Regions from separate parts of the Homo sapiens genome. Here region 1 is linked to region 2. The links are contacts of gene promoters, found by promoter capture Hi-C in human tissues and cell types (Jung and others, 2019). All regions are on one chromosome and are shown on one strand. The core of a region is centred on a gene start or on the middle of the fragment in contact, and the rest is flanking DNA. Distances in the headings are between cores, read along the strand shown. Region 1 has its middle 16 kb from the start of SNORD137. Region 2 holds the start of LURAP1L (leucine rich adaptor protein 1 like).

Region 1 (2,934 bases), core at 281-2,780, 180 kb after region 2:
ATAGGGAGGATGCAAGCATGCTCTAGGGTCAGGTGGTGGGTGGGGTCCCAAGAGATTATATTCTTTGTCTTCGGCTACCAGAGCGGGTAGAGAAAGACCATCAGGTGAGGGATGGTTAGGCGTGTCTGAACTCACTCTTCTGGGGCAAAGCTTGCTGGGGCCTCTGTAGGGATGGGGGTGTAGGTATCAGGTCAATGGAGTTATGTTCCCAGAGGGATTATGGCTGTCTCTGCTGTGTCCCACAGGTTTCCAGGGAAGTGCGAGAAAGCTGGCAATGACAAGCCTCACCCAGCTCCCACGCAGCCCAAAAGACCAGTCTCACTCCCACTGTGCTCCCCCAACAGCACCGAATTTATTTCCAGGCAGCTGGTGGGCAGGGCTGAGAACTTGCCCCAGGCTACAAGCCTCCCTGCTGAGAAAGCAAGCTGGGCTTTCCGGTTTCACCCCTCCCCACCTGCCATGGCTTCTGTGCTGGTATCTGCACTCCTCATTTGCCCCCTCCGCGGATTCTGTCCAGGAAACGTCATGCTGGGTCAAAATTGTTACAAACGTCAGCTGGAAATTTCCTTCTCCCTGTGGTCTTTCCCCAGTTCCACTGGCAGCCCGCCCCCATCCCCACTCAAGGACCCCTATGAGACAAAGTCAGGAATGGCTTCCATGGGGACTGAAAGTGCCCACAGGACTCTTCCTGATGCTTCTTCTACCACTATATTTTGCTCGCCTCTCTAAATTTATCTTAGCTCCAGCTAAGGTCAAATCCTTTTCCAGAGATCTGGACCTTCAGGTTCCCCAGTGAGGATGTGTGTTCAAAGGTGAAATTTCCCCCCTCACACTTTTAGCACTCAGTTTTTTTGCTGTCTCATGGAGCCTGCAGTGGCAAGCCACTTCCTTTAAAGGTCTGTGGATTCTCTCGGCTTTCCTGGTATGTTCCTGCAGTAGTTCTTGGAGCAAAAGTTCACAATGTGAGTCTCTATACACTGCTCATCTGTGCTCACTCAGTTCCTCCTCTAAGCTCCGTCTTTTGAAAGGAGAAATATCAAAGAATTTTTAGGCATATTTTAACACTACTACATATGGGTATTATAAAAACAATTTTTTTTTTACTTAACACAAATGCACAGTATTTCAGCTTTATTAAGTCTGTTTTCAGAATGAAATTCTCAGATGAGAACATGCATTTTGAGGAACACTTAAACTCCAAAATTACTTTTTGGAATAAATTTATTTTTATATCTATATCTGTCTCTGTTTGCATTGAATGATAGGGGAAGAAAATACACAACTATTTCCTCTCTATCCTCAGACTAAAAGAAAAGAATACCAGATCTATTCAATTCTTTATGTCCCTCTTTTACTTCCTGCATTTTAACATATCTGGATTAGCCAGCCTGGCCAGTATGATGAAACCCCATCTCTACTAAAAATACAAATAAATTAGCTGGGCCTGGTGTTGCAAAAGAATTAGCTGGGCCTGGTGTTGCATGTCTGTAGTTCCAGCTACTTGGGAAGCTGAGGTAGGAGAATGACTTGAACCCAGGAGGCGGAGGTTGCAGTGAGCCGAGATCGCACCACTGCACACCAGCCTGGGCGACAGAGTGAGACTCCATCTAAATAAATAAATAAATACAATAAAATAAAATGTCTGGATCAGGAGACAAAGTATAGTGGACCACACAACAAATAAAAAGGAAGCTGAATGAGACTTTCCATTGCGGTGCATGTTTGGGGAGAGGGAGGAGTATGTTCATAGTGGAGAATTTTTGTGTTTTTTTTTTTTTTTTTTGAGACAGAGTCTCACTGTCACCTAGGCTGGGGTGCAGTGGTGCAATCTCGGCTCACTGCAACCTCCACTTCCTGGGTTCAAGCAGTTCTCCTGCCTCAGCCTCCCAAGTAGCTGGGACTATAGGCACGTGCCACCACGCCCAGCTAATTTTTTGTATTTTTAGTAGAGTGGGGGTTTCACCTAGTTAGCCAGGATGGTCTCCATCTCCTGACCTTGTAATCCACCCACCTCGGCCTCCCAAAGTGCTGGGATTACAGGCGTGAGCCATCGCACCTGGCCCATGGTGAAGACATTTGACTGTCATTTCCTCCTTCACCCTTCTCACTTTTCCTTATCCTCTTATCCTTCCTTTTCCCTCTCTCCTCTCTTTTGTTGGGAACTGAGATTTCAGTTGACATACCCAGCAAGGGGTATAGGCCTAGCATTTCCAAGCCTGAGACTTTAGCTGCCTTCAGTTTCCTAATTTATTTTGGTAATACAAATTAAGCAATATGCTTGTCAAAAAACTGATTTTATTGACTGCCCATTTATCTTGCCCCTGGGACATTATTCTCTCTTAAGCATTTCCAAATTCTCTGTAAGTCAGGACCCCTAGTTCAAATTCCAACCTTTGCCACTTATTACAGTCATTATACACATTTTGCTCTCCATCTGCACTCTATTGTCTCAGGTTCTCTCATCCCCAGTGGTATCATGGAGCTTAGGTCTATAATAGCATATTTTCCAGGCCCTCTACAGAACATACCTTGTTGGTGGGTTTTCCAGCTTTATGTATTCTATCTACTTCAAAATGTCCGGTCCTCTAAGCCTCTTGATTCCCTCCTCCTCAATATGGCACAGAGTTTCTTGCATTTCTACTTTATTTAGTGGAAAATTTCACTTGTTCCAAGAACTCAGAATATTCCAAGTTCACCCTAACAGCATGTTAGTTGTATCTACCAAAATTCTAATCATGGCATTAAATATCATATCGCAGAAAAGTACTCCCATATTAACAAACTCTCTCTAACATGAATTTATGTTTCCTTTTGTTGCAGTCCCCTTTTCCCCTGTTCAATGAGGTACAGCCTCTTGTCCCACGACCAAGAAGAACAAGGCACGCAGACACCAGTGGGTGAGTAAGGCAGAGCAGAATTTATTAAGCAAAAGGA
Region 2 (2,918 bases), core at 353-2,852:
ACTTTGCATATACATCACACTTTTACTCTCAGAGGAGTTTCTCCTGCAGACTTCTTTAAAAAACTATATACATATATACATACATATACGTATATATTAAATTATCCTCAGCCTCAAATACTGATTTTGCAGTCTGTGATTCATAGCAGAAGAGGTGTCCCATTTTTCTATATTGACACACGATAATTTGACATTTGTTTTTTACTGACCAATTTCTAGCTAGATATTTCATCTATAAACTGCACTTAGCCAGCCTTATGCTGAACTTTGTAAGGGTTTTGTAATAATAAACTGTTCTTGACTGAAACACAAGCCTTTCATAATTACATGCCACAGTGCAATTCTTATGCAACGAGCTTGTGTTTTTCCAAATTTAGGACCAAGCATGTAGTTTTATCAGTTAGCTGGGATTTGGTCTTGTTTTCCCTTGATTCTGTAAGTGGTAGTTCTAACTTTGAAATGGGTCATCTAACTTATAACTATTTTCTTCATTTCTTTTTAAAAGGGAGAAATAGCATGCAAATTTCTGGCATGTTGATAGAAAGTTCAGCATTTTTTCCCTGACATGAAATATTTCATTTAGAATGCGTATGTTTCCTCTACGTATAAGGTTTCCTAGAGTCAGATATGATAAAAACAAACTCTGAGATGTATATACCTATGTTCCTACAAGTGTAAAACCTGAATGATGTCTCTGGAAATGGAGCCTCGGAGTGACCAGGAACACAAATACTTATATGTCACAGAAATAGAGGGGCACATACTTTGAAATATTTCAATGGAAATCAAAAATTGTAGTTTACTGGATTGAAATTAGTATCCTCTACTTAAACATTTTTGACACAAACTCAATGCTGATTCAGATCTGTAATCCATGTAGCTCATAATAACTTACTTGGTAGAAGTATTTCAGATTAATGAATTGTACAATTGTACAAATTAATAAATTGTACAATTGTTCAACTATACAATTAATTGTACAATTTGTATAGTTGAAAAAATCTATAAATTAATTTATAGATAAATTATCAAAGAAGACAACATTTTAAATAGTTATTCCCAATATTTTTTCTTCCATAATTAAAATAAAAGTAAGTATCTCAGCAATTGCTTGTTCTTAAAATTTCACTGCTATCTCAGCAGTCATGTAAGTTATTCTGGCTATTTAATTTTTCACTTTTGTTTGCATACTGTAACAGTTGGTAGGATAATTAATTTTGATTGTACATTTCCATTGAACTTTTGATGAAATTGTTTCACTCTTTTTATTAGAATAAAATTATTAGGAAAGTCTTCTAAAGAGAGGTTTTCTGTTTGTTTTTCCTTTGAGGAAGGTAGAGAGATGGGAAACGAAGACACCAAATATAAAGTCATTCCTCTATCTCTCATTTTAAAACCTGTTTTAAAGGTTGTAGCTAGTCAGGAAAACTGAAAAATCAACTGGTATTCCTAACTAAAGCAGGGCTTTGAAACTCTGCTACTAGCGACAGGGTTGGGAAAATTCCGGTTGCTCTTCTTGTCTGTGATATACGGTAGAAGGGTTGGTCCTGGTTTGGTCCACCTGCCAGCGGAGTTTAAAGTTTCCGAGGCTCAGAGGAACACAATGACTTGGATCAAACAGCCTAAATGGGAAGAAGGACATTTTTGCTGCATCAAGGAAGCCGTTAAACTCCTGCTAAGCTAACTAGCTCTTTTTTATGGGTCCATGCACACGACCGAACTCCTCTTTCACTGACCAGAGATTATTTCTGACAACCCAGGATATCCCGAAAGCTTGGAGGCATATGGCTGGAAAATGAAACGACCCAGGACATCGTTTCTGGCTGCATCATTATTTTGTGTCGCGTAGTACCAGATGGGCAGTCAGTGAGCGGCGCAGGGATGTGAACGGACGGTTTTATAATGTGAAAATTTTCCCTTGGTAAAGCTAAAACAGATTTAATTTCCCTCTCTTTTCTTTCACTACTTCCCCCTCTTTATTCCCCCTCTGTCTGCAATATCAGTGAACTCAACTTTGCAGTGAGGTGGCCAAAAAGAGAGAGAATGAGGAGATCTTGATCATCTTAGTGTCGGAGGAGTCGCAGCGGACTGGGAACTGCAGCTGCGACCCCCCGCGTCCTGTGCGGATTTCAGGGCTGATACCGCATAGGCGGTTATGGAAAGGACGGTACACCGGAGCGGCGGAGGATAGAGACCCTGGCCCCCGGAGAGGTCTGCTGATTTCGCAGCAGCCTTCGAAGCCGTGGCTGCCTTTCATCTGCTGCGTTTTATTACTATTATCGCCGTTCCGGAAAAGTCATGGAAGACAGCCCGCTGCCAGACCTCAGAGACATCGAGCTGAAGCTGGGGCGCAAAGTACCCGAGAGTCTAGTGCGCTCTCTCCGTGGGGAGGAGCCGGTTCCCAGGGAAAGGGACAGGGACCCCTGCGGGGGGAGCGGTGGTGGTGGCGGCGGCGGCGGCGGCTGCAGTAGCAGCAGCAGCTACTGCAGCTTCCCTCCCTCCTTGTCGTCCTCCTCTTCGTCCTCCCCAACCTCTGGCTCCCCACGAGGTAGCCACTCTAGCGCCCTGGAGAGGCTAGAAACCAAGCTTCACCTCCTCAGGCAAGAGATGGTGAGTGTGGTGCGCCAGCCGCGGGGGCTGGGACCTGGGCTGGGCCAAAAGATGGGGCGATCTGAGAATGGGGCTGGGAGAGAGGACGGCAGGGGCTGCAGAGCGGAGCGCTGGGCGCGTGGGAAATGCTGGGTGGAGGAATGAGCAGGGGGCGCTCATCCGGAGGCAGCTGCTGCGAGGCTTGTTTACCGCGGACTTTGCTCGGTCACGGTTTGCAAAGACAGCACAGTCGGCTGGCTCCACTCTGTGTACTTTCGGACAACGCGACTCACTGCGCCGGGCTCTATTTAGCTGCCAGCCCGTAGCCT

The links. The method cuts DNA at HindIII sites, captures the fragments that hold promoters and counts their contacts. A contact is called where the count stands out against the background at its distance.
Region 1: a fragment that was not itself captured here is called in contact with the fragment with the promoter of LURAP1L in region 2 in 2 of the 25 tissues and cell types used here (dorsolateral prefrontal cortex and mesenchymal stem cells).

What each region holds. Positions count from the first base shown.
Region 1 is chr9:12,955,594-12,958,527 of GRCh38, forward strand. No RefSeq gene overlaps it. Among named protein-coding and RNA genes, the nearest start is that of SNORD137, 16 kb to the right of the region's middle. The HindIII fragment of the contact is 8,924 bases long and covers 1-2,934 here.
Region 2 is chr9:12,773,418-12,776,335 of GRCh38, forward strand. LURAP1L (leucine rich adaptor protein 1 like) reads left to right here and starts at 1,603. Exons shown (of 2, transcript NM_203403.2): 1 at 1,603-2,610. The coding sequence starts at 2,299. All of the region lies in intron 2 of LURAP1L-AS1 (LURAP1L antisense RNA 1), which reads right to left. The HindIII fragment of the contact is 5,707 bases long and covers 1-2,179 here.